3 separate regions of the Homo sapiens genome follow, and all the other regions are linked to region 3. The links are contacts of gene promoters, found by promoter capture Hi-C in blood cells and fetal thymus (Javierre and others, 2016). All regions are on one chromosome and are shown on one strand. The core of a region is centred on a gene start or on the middle of the fragment in contact, and the rest is flanking DNA. Distances in the headings are between cores, read along the strand shown. Region 1 holds the start of ZNF135 (zinc finger protein 135). Region 2 holds the start of ZNF154 (zinc finger protein 154). Region 3 holds the start of ZFP28 (ZFP28 zinc finger protein).

Region 1 (4,395 bases), core at 29-2,528, 1.5 Mb before region 3:
CACTCGATGCGCCATCTTGGAGCGCAGAGCATGCTAAGGCCTTCAACTTCAGACTGCAGAGCCGGGGCACCTACAATTTTCTGACATCACCCAGCCTCAGGTATGCAATGACGGCCGCACAAACATAAAGCCCACTCAGACAGGGACCCGTGCCCGCTGACCTCCAGCGCGGCGTGGGCGGTCCTTTCAGAGGCAGGCTGTGGTTGGGGAGCTTGGCGCGGACTTTAGGAGGCCGGGTGTGCAGGTAGAGGCCGGACACGAGTAGAGGCTAGATGTGCAAATAGAGGCCGGGCACGAGTAGAGGCCGGGCACCAGTAGAGGCCAGGTGCGCGAGTAGAGGCCAGTTGTGCGAGTAGAGGCCGGGCACGAGTAGGGGCCGGGCACGCAAGTAGGGGCCGGGCACAAGGAGGAGGCTGAGCGCGAGTAGGGACGGGGTGCAAAGAGGAGGCCGGGCGTGAGAAGGCCGCGCGCGAGGAGGCCGGGCACGAGGTGGAGGACACGCGCAAGGAGGCCGAGATTCTCACCGGGTCTGTGGAGACGCGCACCCCAGGGGTCATGCCCTGGCTTCTGGCAGGAACGGCTGGCCCTGCTCTGTGGGAAAGGGGAGGTGAGCAGCTGGGGCAGGCAGAGGCGGTGCTCAGGTCCCCAAGCCGGGGAACTGCGCCAGAGCCTGGGGAGCTCCGCGGAGAGCCGTCCAGGGCCCCGCGTACCCGTTTAAGCGCCTGCTGTGTGTGGGGCGGCCCTCCGCTCGGAGAAGGGCAGCCTAGGGTTTTCCCGCCTGTCTGAGGGAAGCTGAAGGCCTGGCGGGTGCGGACACATATCTGCTGCGCAGACTCTGAGCCTTAACGCTACAGTGACAAGGGCCGGGTGGTTGCGGTCCCCTGGCCCTGGGCACTATGCCTCAGTTTCTCTCTTCCATCAACAAAGGTGGCGGCCCAGTGCCCGGTGTGGGGCAGAGGTGGGGCCAGGGGCGGGGCGCGCGTTCCCTCAGGGGCCGTCGGAGCAGCTCCTGTCCAGCTGGGCGTTGGGCCCCGCCCTCCTCTCAGACTAGGGATGCCCCGCAAAGCCTGCCCCCGCCAGCCCCGAAACGGCCTTCCCCAGGCCCCGGGCAGCAAAACGGACTCCACACAGACGCGCGCTGCTGGAAACTCGCCCCGCCAGGGCCTCAGGAAGATCCCCGGACCCCCCGCACCCGGCCCGGCCCGGCCCGGCCTGGCCTCCCCTCCCCCTCCTCGCCGGCCTAGCTCACCCTCCTGACTGCGAGACAAAGGCCGCGGCACCGGCAGCCGACACTGCGCCGGCGCGAGCCTAACTCCATTTCCCAGAGAGCCGCGCGCGCATTTCCGGCCGCCCTCCCCCACCTCGCTCTCGCCCTTGGCGTTCGTGAGCTCTCAGTGCTGCTGGAGCTGGAGTGACTGGGCCTGGTGAAACAGGGCGCGCGGGGTGCCTGGGCATCAACGCGGGATAAGTGCCGCTTGGAACGCCGTGAGCTCCCGGCGCGACCACACGGGCTTTCGTGTTGGAAACTCTACCGTCAGTTTTACTGCTGCAAACAAAGCAATGATTTTTTCAAAACACATACTTTCAACCAAAACATTCACCAAGATCGCACACACGGGAGTCTTTGCATTTTCCACACTGAGGCAGCCATGGAGACTTCACACTGTATTTATTACATGGTTATAAGGAACATCACGTGCAAGACACTAACAATTATGACGACTTTGGACATTGCTAGGTAATTGTCAAAATTGTGCATTTGAACAGCAGCAAAATATTCAAAGCTGGTGTGCCCTCGCTGACACGAAATGAATTGTCATTTTCTGAACATTCACCAAAGCCTGCCAGGCGCTAGGCCTAGGTTCAGCAGCACACAATAGTGAAGCCCCCATTCAAGCGGGCTTCGTTTCACCAGCGTACGTCACACGTCCGTGGAGCAGCGAGACCAGAGGAGCTGGGAAAGCCAGGGCTGAGCCTTGTGCTTTTGCCCTTTTAAGGGAGGACAGATTAATTCCAATCAGCCTGGGCTTGGGAGCTGTATTTGAAGCAGAGGAAAAGTTTTAAGACGGGCATTTTTTTTTCTTTGACTGAAACAACTCTGAAAACAGCAGAGAACACAATACGAATTCTCGTACCACACACAGACACTTGCAAAGATTTGGCTGGTTAACACACAAGTTAAGACTTTAAATTTCATAAGCCCTAAAACAGTGGCAATTATGAAGAGATATAATGGCTCAAAATCATAATGCACTGATGTAAACAAAGCAAAGGCAAGCTTCTTGGCTTTTAAGGGCGTCCTGTACATTCCAAGTACTGTAAAGCCCCACATTTGTGACCGTCGCACTGAAAGCCAGCCTGCTTTTCACTCTACAGCAGTAAAGAGGCTTTCCATTATACATAAAATGCCGTTTTTCAGTTCTCGAACTCACAAACCCAAATGCCACAAAACATCTTTTTGTGTATTTTTTCTTTCACAAAATGTATACTCTTGCCCCCCACCCCCACCCCCAACCGTTTCCTTTTACTGGATCAAAAGGTATGAACACACAACTCATGGTGAAGTCTTTTTCCCAAGCGGTCTGATAGTCCTGGTGAGAAGCTGTCAGTGGTGCCACACTGAGCCTGCTCAGCCCTGATGGTGGCCAGGCGGCCCTGCCCAGCTCCCTCAAACTTGCCCCTCTGTTTCCTCCCTCAGACCTTCTGATCCTCTGTTTTTCTCAGCCAGGTTTCTAAACCGTACATGCTTTTGCAGGGGCGGGCTCTTTCTACAGGGGCAAGTGCTGCTTGGCTCCAGCCAAGTGGGGTCGTGCGGACTGGCAAGCCCAGCGTCCCAGGTCTGGATTTCTCTAAAGAACCCAGAGATCAGGATTTCTATGTGAAATCTCTTGATTTTTAAAAGCTGGTAGGGATTTCAAAGGCTTTAATAACACTCTACCAGTCAAATAAGATGAGCTGGAGGCTACTCCAGTGCCACCCTTGCTGTGGTCTGAACCTCCTGCTGTCTCTTGTAACCACTGGCTGGGCCCCTCTCAGCTCCTTCTTGGCTTCCTGTACGAATCTCCAAGCAGAGCATTGCTGGTTGCCTCTCTGTGGCCTGGAACAGGACCCCCCACCATGAGCAGGTGGGCTGCACATCAGTACAGCTTCCAAGCAATCCTGCAATCACAGCATGGATAGCAGAACTGTGTCATGCTGTATGTTAATGTTCAAAAAGTTAATCTGTTCAACACATACATTTAAAATATACTGTAACAGTTACAGCTCCCTGGACATATTTCTCCCTTTAAAAAAAAAATCTTTTTGACAGCTTCAAAACCTGGCAGTGTCCAGGCCTCCTCTGACCCAAGAGACCCTGGCTGCCAGGGAGAAAGGTGGCGTCTGAGACTCCGGTCTTCCAGAGCGTGAAGTGCCCAGGGCTGGGCTCACAGCTCCTGTGACAAGGGCTGGAGGACAGGAGACTGGGGCACATCGTGATGGGGGTGTTGGAGTCTTTGGGGGGTGCTGGCAGAGGAAGGCACAGGGCAAGGGAGGCGTGCTGAGGTGCTGGGGCTTCCACAGCTGGGGTGAACCCAAAGAGAAGAGAGGGGCTAGTGCTCTGTCTCACTGCAGCTCGGGCAGGGGCTTGGGACTGGGCAAGTTAGGTGAAGAACACCACGTGGTGGCTTTCGTGAGTTGCAGCAGCTGCCACAACTGGTCCAGCACCCTGGGCCAAGTCCTTGCTTCTGTCAGCCAAGGTGTAGCACGTGAGAGTGGCCCTCCAGGACCCTGGGCCACGTCCTTGCTTCTGTCAGCCAAGGTGGAGCACACAAGAGTGGCCCTCCAGGATCCTGGGCCACGTCCTTGCTTCCGTCAGCCAAGGTGGAGCACACAAGAGTGGCCCTCCAGGACCCTGGGCCACGTCCTTGCTTCTGTCAGCCAAGGTGGCGCACACAGGAGTGGCCCTCCAGGATCCTGGGCCACGTCCTTGCTTCCGTCAGCCAAGGTGGAGCGCATTGAGAGTGGCCCTCAAGGGGTGGCCCACCTCCCCTCAGAGGTCGAGGGAGGCTTCCCCGGCTGGAAACTGCAGCCCACAATGGTGTCCCGGTGTCTCCACAGGGACTTCCCCTCACTCATTGAGTCACTCATCCCTTCACTCTGTAGGACCTGTTGTATGCTGGGTGTGGTCAAGTATGGCAGTGGAGACTGTTCTAGGCACAGGAGGAGGCCAGGGTGAGAGGCAGTGTGGAGTCAGGTGGAGACACAGTGAGTTAAGGACACCAGCCTCCACCATCCCAGTGCTGGGGGCTGTGGAGGCAGCAGGGCCACAAAGGACACTATAGAGCTACCCTGCTGGGCTTTGTCTTTTCAGTGTCTGCATTTTAGAGGGACCCTGTTGGCTGCAGGATGGGGATG
Region 2 (4,426 bases), core at 657-3,156, 1.2 Mb before region 3:
AGGCGGAGCTTGCAGTGAGCCGAGATCGCGCCACTGCACTCCAACCTGGGTGACAGAGCAAGATTCCATCTCAAAAAAAAAAAAAAAAAAAAAAGTACATTACCTTGCTGAGAATTAAAAAGAAAATTTTATATTCGAGTGCTATTTATTTTGCGGCTCCAAAACTTTATAACAAAGCAGCAGAGATTTCTCGGCCAGGCTCGGTGGCTCATGCCTGTAATCCCAGCACTTTGGGAAGCCGAGATGCGTGGATCACCTGAGGTCAGTGGTTCGAGACCAGCCTGGCCAACATGGTGAAACCCCGTCTCTTCTAAAAATACAAAAATTAGCTGGGTGTCATGGCGTGCGCCTGTAGTCCCAGCTACTTGGGAGGCTGAGGCAAGATAATCGCTTGAACCCAGGAGGTGGAGAGGTTGCAGTGAAACAAGACTGCGTCATTGCACTCCAGCCTGGGCAATAAGAGTGAAACTCCATCTCAAAAAAAAAGAAAAAAAAAAAAGAAGAGATTTCTCACCTATATACCCTGAGTGTCTCTGCAGCCAGCAAAGCAGATGAAGGCCTGCTGGGTTGGAGCCCTAGGCCCTCCAATGCTGAAATGCCCTGTGAAGTCTCCATCCATCCAGGCACTCTAGTAACCTGCTTCTTCTGCCTGGAATTTATTCTAAAAATACCCACATGGCTCATTTCTCACTTCCTTCAAGTGCATTTCACCGGCTTTCTGATTAAGAAGTCCCACCTCTCCCCTTTGTCTCTTATCAAAGTAGCATTTCTTTCATTGTTTTTTGAGATTGATGTTAGACTTCTAGAAGGAATATATCTCAGATATCAAGTAAGAATTATGAAATGGATAAAAGCGTTGCTCAGTGAATTGGACACAGTTATTGACTGGACACAGTAATTGGACACAATAATTGACTATGCAGGCAAAAGATGTTTTCTGTTGGAATCAGACAGAATTCTACCTTTGTACTACTGTTTCAAGGTGATCTAACATTTCTCTTCTATCTTCTAGAAGCACTATCATGCCACTATCTGAAGTAGTTTTTCACCTGTCCCTGACCAAAAGTGCACAGACTGACTTCAATGCTTCGGAGTGCATACATTTGAAATGTAATATGATAGAGGCTGGGTACGGTGGCTTACGCCTGTAATCCCAGCACTTTGAGAGGCCGAGGCGGGCAGATCACCTGGGGCCAGGAATTTGGGACCACCATAGTGAAACCCTGTCTCTACTGAAAATACAAAAAATTAGCCTGGCGTGGTGGCGCGCGCCTATAGTCCCAGCTACTTGGAAGGTTGAGGCACGAGAATCGATTAACCCGGGAGGCGGAGGTTGCAGTGATCCCAGATGGCGCCGCTGCACTCCAGCCTGGGGGACAGAGGGAAACTTTGTCTTAAAAAAAAAAAAAAAGGAATAAACTTATATGGTAATGTTTATTAGCTTCCCTACTAGTGGATATATTTCGTGTCTGAATGGCTCTATGGAATGATGTACATATTTGGATTGGCAGCCTTAGGGAGCGTCTGATAATAATTTTAGCCTCTGGGAGCCTGCTGAACTTTATGAAGTTTGAAATAATATTCCCCAAACACTTGGGTGATCAGTTGCAGATGGCACCTCTAATATGCTGTCTGATTACGACCCATTTAAGAAAGGGCGAAGTCCCTCCACTGCCCTAGGACTTGGATAAGCCATTTCTCATCGCCCAGCGCCCTGGAGCTTCGCTTTTACTCCAAGAGGTTGGTGCAAAGGGTCCCCGGCACCCACCTCGGGATCTATGAAAACTACATTACCTAGAATGCTCTGCGTTGAACGCCACGCTACTAAGCCAGTAAGAGCTCAGAAAACCGACTTTCCTTGAGAGTCACAAAAAGAAAGGACGGGACTTTTGGGGGGGCCTCTTCGTGGCGGCCATTTTAGCTTCTCTGAGGTGTGTTCACCGGATCAGAGATAGCAGAGCGCCGAGTTGGGGCCACGAAGGCGTGAGGGGAGTCGTCGTCCCTCCTGCACGAAAGCGTCTAAGCCTTGGCGACGCCGCCCTGGGGGACCCACGTCAGGCCTGGGATAGGGACCGCTGTCCCCGGGTCCCTACCAATGTCGCCCGTCGCTCCCGGCCCAGCTCTACCCGCAGAGTCTGATGGCAGCGGCCACTCTGAGGACGCCAACTCAGGTGAGTGCGGCGTCTTCCCGTCCTCACACACCTTCCCCCACCCACGTTCTAAAGCCATCAGTGAGGGGCGCCTGCTCGAGTCCCCGCTGCCCAGGGTCGGGGACACTGAGGCGTTCGTGGGTGGGGCCCTTTTTTTGACACTGCGTGTGACGAGGTGTGGGAGAGCGTGACAGGCGGAGGAACCGGCGCGTGCAAAGGTTGAGGCGCGACTGAGCCAGGAGAATTCGGAAAGCTGTTTTCTGCAGGGAACGAAGAATATGAGGCGGAGTTACTCCTAGGGTTGTACTGTCATTGTGAGGATGCTAGAAGCCACGGAGAGTTCTGAACAAAGGAGGGACGCCATTTATGTTAGTTTTTTTTTCTTTGAGACGGAGTTTCGCTCTTATCGCCCAGGCTGGAGTGCAATGACGCGATCTCGGGTCACTGCAACCTCCGACTCCCGGGTTCAAGCGATTCTCCTGCCTCAGCCTCCCCAGCAGCTGGGATTACAAGCCTGCAGCTGGGATTACAACGTCCGGCTAATTTTTTGTATTTTTAGTAGAGACGGGATTTCACCATTTTGGCCAGACTGGTCTGGAACTCCTGACAAGTGATCCTCCTGCCTCGGCCTCCCAAAGTGCTGGGATTACAGGCGTGAGCCACCGTGCCCGCCCTATGTTAGGGTTTAAAAACTTTTCCAAAGACTGTTCACAGGAAGAGCAGCGATGGGGCGATGAGGACATTGAGATAGTGGGAGGCTACATCTTTTTTTCATTGCCCTACAGTTGGCAAGAGGTGACAGCACTGAGACCAGAAAGTAAAACAGCCAGCCTGAGTTCAGGGCCAGGCAGGGCTACAGGGAGGCTTGAGCTCATCTAGCCTCACCAGGGATGCATTCCTCTTTCCCTGGTTCTCCCAGTTGTAGAAGGGCGTATGGAACTCACATAGGGAAGTGGAGAGTGTTCGGTCCCTCAGTAGCCTCTACCCCCATGTTCTTGGGATTGTGGTTTCCTAGTATTCTTAAGTGCTGTTACCCCAATCCTGGGTCTGGTGCCCTGGAGAAATTCCAAGCCCAGGGCTCTTAAGTCCATGCCAGAGGTTACAGGGGTTATACTGAGGTGTTCCCATTTTTGTCAGCCAGTGGAAACTTGTGAAAGGTTATCTCTGGCACTGGTATCAGGAGGCGCAAGTGCTTAGTAAAACTAAGCTGAGATTTTTGAGGAAACCATAGATCTGTTTCCTTTTAGCTGGGAACAAAGAGCAGGGGGAAGGAGTCAGGACTGCAGTGGCTGCCTGAGAAGTTGGGTACCTATTCTGGAGGTAATGAGAGATTTGGGTTACAAGAGGGAGGTGATCTTACCAAAGTCCTAACAGGGTCCATCCCGTTAGCGTGGAGAGCAGACTGTGGGGTTGAGGGAAGAGGAAAGAAGATCAGAGTGGAAGCTACAGCCAGTCCAGGGTAATGGACCAGAGTCATTGATTAGGAGATGTGTTGCATTCTGGATGCAAATTTTTAAAGGGAGCAACTAAATTTTCTGATGTAGACAGCGAGGGAGTGAAACAGGATTCAGCGATGACCCCATGGTTCTTCAACTGAGATGGAGAAGTTGGTATTAACAGTAATATTCACTGGAGACAACAGGAGCTTTATTTGGTCATGTAAGAGTTTGAGATGTTTCAGAGACATTAAGTAGGCATTAAGTAGGTGGCTGAACACCCAGGTCTGGAAATCTGGGGAGTGCTTCAGAATGGAGACATCCAAAATGTGGTGGTCATTGTGTGGACTAAGGTGAGTGAGCTGTGGATTACATTTAGAAGGGTTGTTCTATTTTTTTTTTTTTTTTTTGAGATGGAGTGTCTCTCTTGTTGCCCAGGCCAGAGTGCAATGGCGCGAGCTTGGCTCACCACAACCTCCGCCTCCCGGCTTCAAGCAATTCTCCTGCCTCAGCCTCCCGAGTAGCTGGGATTACAGGCATGCGCCACCACGCCCGGCTAATTTTGTATTTATTTAGTAGAGACAGGGTTTCTCCATGTTGGTCAGGCTAGTCTTGAACTCCCAACCTCAGGTGATCCACCCGCCTCAGCCACCCAGAGTTCTGGGATTACAGGCGTAAGCCACCGCATCCGGCCTACAAGGGTTAATCTTTAGGCATGGTGGTACAGGTTATTTGGCCAGGAAGGGCAGAATGGGGGCTAAGGACCAAGCCTTTTGGTTGGATAAGTGGGTGATATTCTTGGGCTTTCTAAACAGAGGTAAGGGAGGTTAGTGGCTATGG
Region 3 (4,100 bases), core at 776-3,275:
AAAGAAAGGGCCATGAGCAGAGTGCTGAGGCACACTCTGTTCAAGTCACGGAGGTAAGAACTGTGGCAAAAACTGAGCAGTCAGGAAGATGAAAGTCAGATGAGTGTGAGATCCCAGTAGCCAAGGGAAAAAAGGGGGCCTATTGAAGGACAGGGATGAGCTATTTGAGGGATAGGTAGCCACCTGTTTTGTAACTGAAGTTTTACTGGAACACAGCCCATCCATTCATTTACATATTGTCTTTGGCTACTTTAGCTCTATAAGAGCAGAAAGGAGTAGATGCAGCAGGACTTTCAAAGCCTAACATATTTTCTGCTGTGGCCTCATCCAGCACAAGTTTGCCAGCCTCTGAGCTATTTCAAATACCAATGATAGTCAAAAAAGACTAAGAATTGAGCACTGCATCTGGTAATGTGAAGATCACAGTAACCCACTCAAGAGCAGTTTGGGTAGGACAACTGGAAGCTGGTTCATCTGTACATATATTTTTTGAGGCCTCAGTGGAAGTGAAATGGTTCATCTATTAATGAGCTAGCTATGATATTTATAGGAGAAGCCAACCGAAACAAACACAACTATTTACTGGCATGTTTTAAAGCCACAAAATCAAGTGGAAAAGCCTTTCATATTGCGCCTCCTCTCCCTAAAATGTTGTCTTTCTTTACTGTGCCTCCCAAACATCTTCTCTCCCTTCAAGGCAAGGCTCAAAAATCACCTCCTTGGTAAATAGGCCTACCCTTCCGCTACAGGAGGCTGGAAGCCAGGAGCGCCTTGTAGTCCTCGCTCATAATACTTGGCCCAAGGATGATCACATTCTAGAATCTTGCTTGTTTCCTTGACATTGGGTCAACAGGCTGTGAGCTCCAGAGCAGGGACTAGGGCTTAGCTATTGGTTTGCTCAGTGGCTGGCACAAAGTGGTCACCAAACAAACCATGTATAGCAGAAGAGTCTGCCGTGTTCCTCAAGGGGCACAATTCCTCCATCAGAGTCCCTCTGAGAAAAGCGGTACAAGGGAGAGGCTGAATCATTTCATCAATCAAGAATGAAGGCTGATTGGGATGAAGAAGAAGCAGGCATCGAGGCCCCGGGCAGTTTAAACTTTTCCCCGTAGCCCATCACTTCACTAGAACGTGAAGAAATAGAAACCCGCGCCCAAACAGGTCTCTTAAACTGAAAACTTTCAAGAAAATAAGCAACATTAAGTCCCGAAAAGCAAGACTGCATTTCAGAGACAAGAGATGAAATGCCAACTCACCTGGGACATGGCTTTAGGTTCAATTCCTGTCCCCACAGCCTCCAGCTTCTTGTTTCTCTCCTGGGGAAGAGCAGTGTCCCTGGAAGGCAGAGCTGAAAGAGAAAGGAGTAGCTAGAGACCAGGTCTACACCACAGTCCCAAATCACCAGCCTAGAAACGTCCCTTCCTGCATGAAAAGGTGGGATCAGATCATTACCCTGCCTAGGGACTGCCACAACGTGGAGATAGGTTTTTTTCCTCCCTGGGAGCACGAAAACAGGAAAAGCGTCTAGTTAGAGTCACCCTGGGAAAGTCAACACCCTTTTACCGCGGCTTGCTGCTCTGAATCAGTTGAGCTTCCAAATCTTCAGATTCTCCCACTCCACCAGCTTCAAAGACCAGGGGCACAGTTCTCCAGCAACTGGTCCCCGAGAGCCCAACCCCCTCCCAGATCTCATCCCGAGATGAATTCGTCCCTGTCCGCTCGGCCCCAAACACCTGTCACTCTCACCTCTGTGCCCAGGCCCCGTAGGGGCCGCTCCTCGCTGGCCTTTGGATGCGAGGCCATTCCTTGAGCGCGGCCTTCCCCGGGCAGGGAGGGCCAAGGTGGCTGGAGTCCCTACAGTCGGGCCTCGGCCCGCCCGGGGCTTTGTGCGGGGGGCGCCTCTACCCGGGAGCGGCGTCGGCTCGCGGACACTCGCGCTCGCCGCCCCCCGCATGTCACCCGAGGCCGCGCGACGCCCTTCCGACCGGTCCCTCACAGACCCACACCCCTGGCCACACCCGCCCGCCACGCCCAGCGAACAGCCCCGCGCGCGCTCCCCCATGGCCCGGCATCCACTGGGCCGCGCCGCGGAGCCGCCCCGCCCCCGGCCGCGCCCCGCCCCTCCCCACCCCTCCCCGCTGCCCCGCCCCGCCCCGCCCCGCCCCGCCCCGCCCCGCCCCGCCCCGCCCCGCCCCGCCCCGCCCCTCAGCCTAGAGAAGCCCGGCGCTTCCCACTTCCAGTGCGCAGGCAGCGCCGCCGGAACCGGGCGTGGCCTCGGCGCAATGCCCGCTGGGAAGCGTAGTCCCAAGCAGGGACGGATGCGGCGGCCCTCGGAGCTCAGGTTGCAAGATACGGTTTGGCCCCGGGCCTATGCAACGCCCGTCCGTCCTGCCCTCTGCGGGTCGCTCTCACTTGTCCCTGGACCGCAGCCGCCGCATAAGTGGTGGCCAACGCTGGGCCTGGGTGTGGCCGGAAGCAGAGGCCGCTCTGACTACACACCCACCCCCCAAAGGCTTCTGGGAGTCGCGCAGGCGCAGCGGCAGACCGGGTGAGGCGGGGCTTGCGGCGAGGGGTGGGACCGCAGGGCCGGAGTAAAAGGGTGCTTGGCTGTGACAGGTGCTAAGGGCCTGGGCGTCAGCTCCTTGCGGGAGCGTCACTGCCGACCGGGAAGGGAAAGGCAATCTTGGGGGCCTCCGGAGTCCGGAGGATCACTCTGATGGGTGATGTGTGTGGGCTAGGAAGGGGGATGTAGAGAGCTTGTGGGATTGTTTTGGGTGCCCCCTCACCTTCTCCCATTATCTCTGGCTACACGGGCCTCCCATCCTCCAAAATACCATTTTCCATTTTGTAACCTATGTATTTGCACGTCCTGGGTCGAAATAGTCTAACCCCAAATTTTCGTCTGGGCTGGCTCCTTTATGCCATTCACTTGTCATCGCCTCAGAGAGGGCTGCCTAACGTCTCAAAAATACCAGCCCTGGCGACCTCTTAAAGTTCCCTTCCTGTGTGAATCACGGTCTGAAGTTAGCTGATGGATTTATTCTTGAACATGTTTAGGACCGGTCTCTCCCCCAGGGGCCTTATCAGAACTGGAGAGCTTCATCCTGGGAGCCAAGGGCCTTGCTGGCTCACAGGCAGTGATGCTGTTACACCAGTCATCACAGATGCACTGACCTCTGCACGCCCAGTCACACTGCACGCCTGGTCTCCTTACTCTTGAATTGATTTCTTTCAGGTCTCCTGGCCTCAGTGATGGAATTAAGATGACTTCTATCTCTGAATCCAAGGGTGACTGAAAGCCGCAAGCTGCAGAAAGGACAAGGTCAGCATTTCTCTCAAAGCACTTCAGTCTCATAGAAAAGGCTTAGTTTCAGTCAGGTGGACCTAGCCATGTAATAGCTGTGGCAGACACTGCTAATGGTCTCTCTGGTGTCTATTTTGCACTCCTTCCACAGCAGAACATTGATGCTCTTCAAGTGGCCATCTGCCCAGCTTATAATACTCACCTCCCCAGTCTCCTTGTAAGGAGTAGTGGCTCTGTAACCAATGAATTTTAAGTACACATTTGCTGGGGGTTTGGTGGATGTGTGGAAAGAGACACAGCTGGCATGTAACTCTGGCCTTTTGTCATCTCACACAACCTTCTTCCTGCTTGGGTATGACACAGGATGTCAACAGGTAGAACAGCTGTAGAGAGCTGGCAAAGGGATCGTGGCCAACTCAACATTCCACTGGAGGCTATATGATCAAACAGCAAACTGTTTATCATGAATGCAGAATGTGGGCAAAGTCGCTTCTGCTCCAGCCACCAGAAGGTTTGCTGAAGGCAATCACTCCCTGGTGTCATGCTCCTTGAGGTTATCTAATGGGACATCTAGAGCCTATTGGTTGACGAATGCAGTCTTGCAAGCCTGCTGTAAATCAAGCTACTGACCGACAACCACCCCCCTTCTCCCTATTCACTCTAATAAATACGAAGGGCTGTAAAGGCTCAGGGCCTGTGTTCACTGGAAGCAAGGAGCCCCCAGACCTCTTCTTCCAAATATACTCTTTTGTCTTTGTCTTTATTCCCATGTTTGTCATCCTTTGTTCAGTCCAAC

The links. The method cuts DNA at HindIII sites, captures the fragments that hold promoters and counts their contacts. A CHiCAGO score of 5 or more calls a contact.
Region 1: a contact is called between the fragment with the promoter of ZNF135 here and the fragment with the promoter of ZFP28 in region 3, in 3 of 17 cell types (fetal thymus, naive CD8 T cells and activated CD4 T cells). The highest score is 6.3, in fetal thymus.
Region 2: a contact is called between the fragment with the promoter of ZNF154 here and the fragment with the promoter of ZFP28 in region 3, in 1 of 17 cell types (neutrophils). The highest score is 5.6, in neutrophils.

Annotation. Positions count from the first base shown.
Region 1 is chr19:58,056,165-58,060,559 of GRCh38, reverse strand. ZNF135 (zinc finger protein 135) reads right to left here and starts at 1,278. Exons shown (of 5, transcript NM_001289401.2): 1 at 1,250-1,278; 2 at 525-591. The coding sequence starts at 557. It also overlaps a transcript of ZSCAN1 not described here. The HindIII fragment of the contact is 3,956 bases long and covers 1-2,280 here.
Region 2 is chr19:57,706,684-57,711,109 of GRCh38, reverse strand. ZNF154 (zinc finger protein 154) reads left to right here and starts at 1,906. Exons shown (of 3, transcript NM_001085384.3): 1 at 1,906-2,171. The coding sequence starts at 2,139. RefSeq lists enhancers at 1,726-1,785, 1,806-1,935, 1,679-2,318. The HindIII fragment of the contact is 9,236 bases long and covers 1-4,426 here.
Region 3 is chr19:56,536,873-56,540,972 of GRCh38, reverse strand. ZFP28 (ZFP28 zinc finger protein) reads right to left here and starts at 2,025. Exons shown (of 8, transcript NM_020828.2): 1 at 1,747-2,025; 2 at 1,257-1,348. The coding sequence starts at 1,954. It overlaps ZFP28-DT (ZFP28 divergent transcript), which reads left to right and starts at 2,239. Exons shown (of 3, transcript NR_183967.1): 1 at 2,239-2,548; 2 at 3,236-3,322. The HindIII fragment of the contact is 11,931 bases long and covers 1-4,100 here.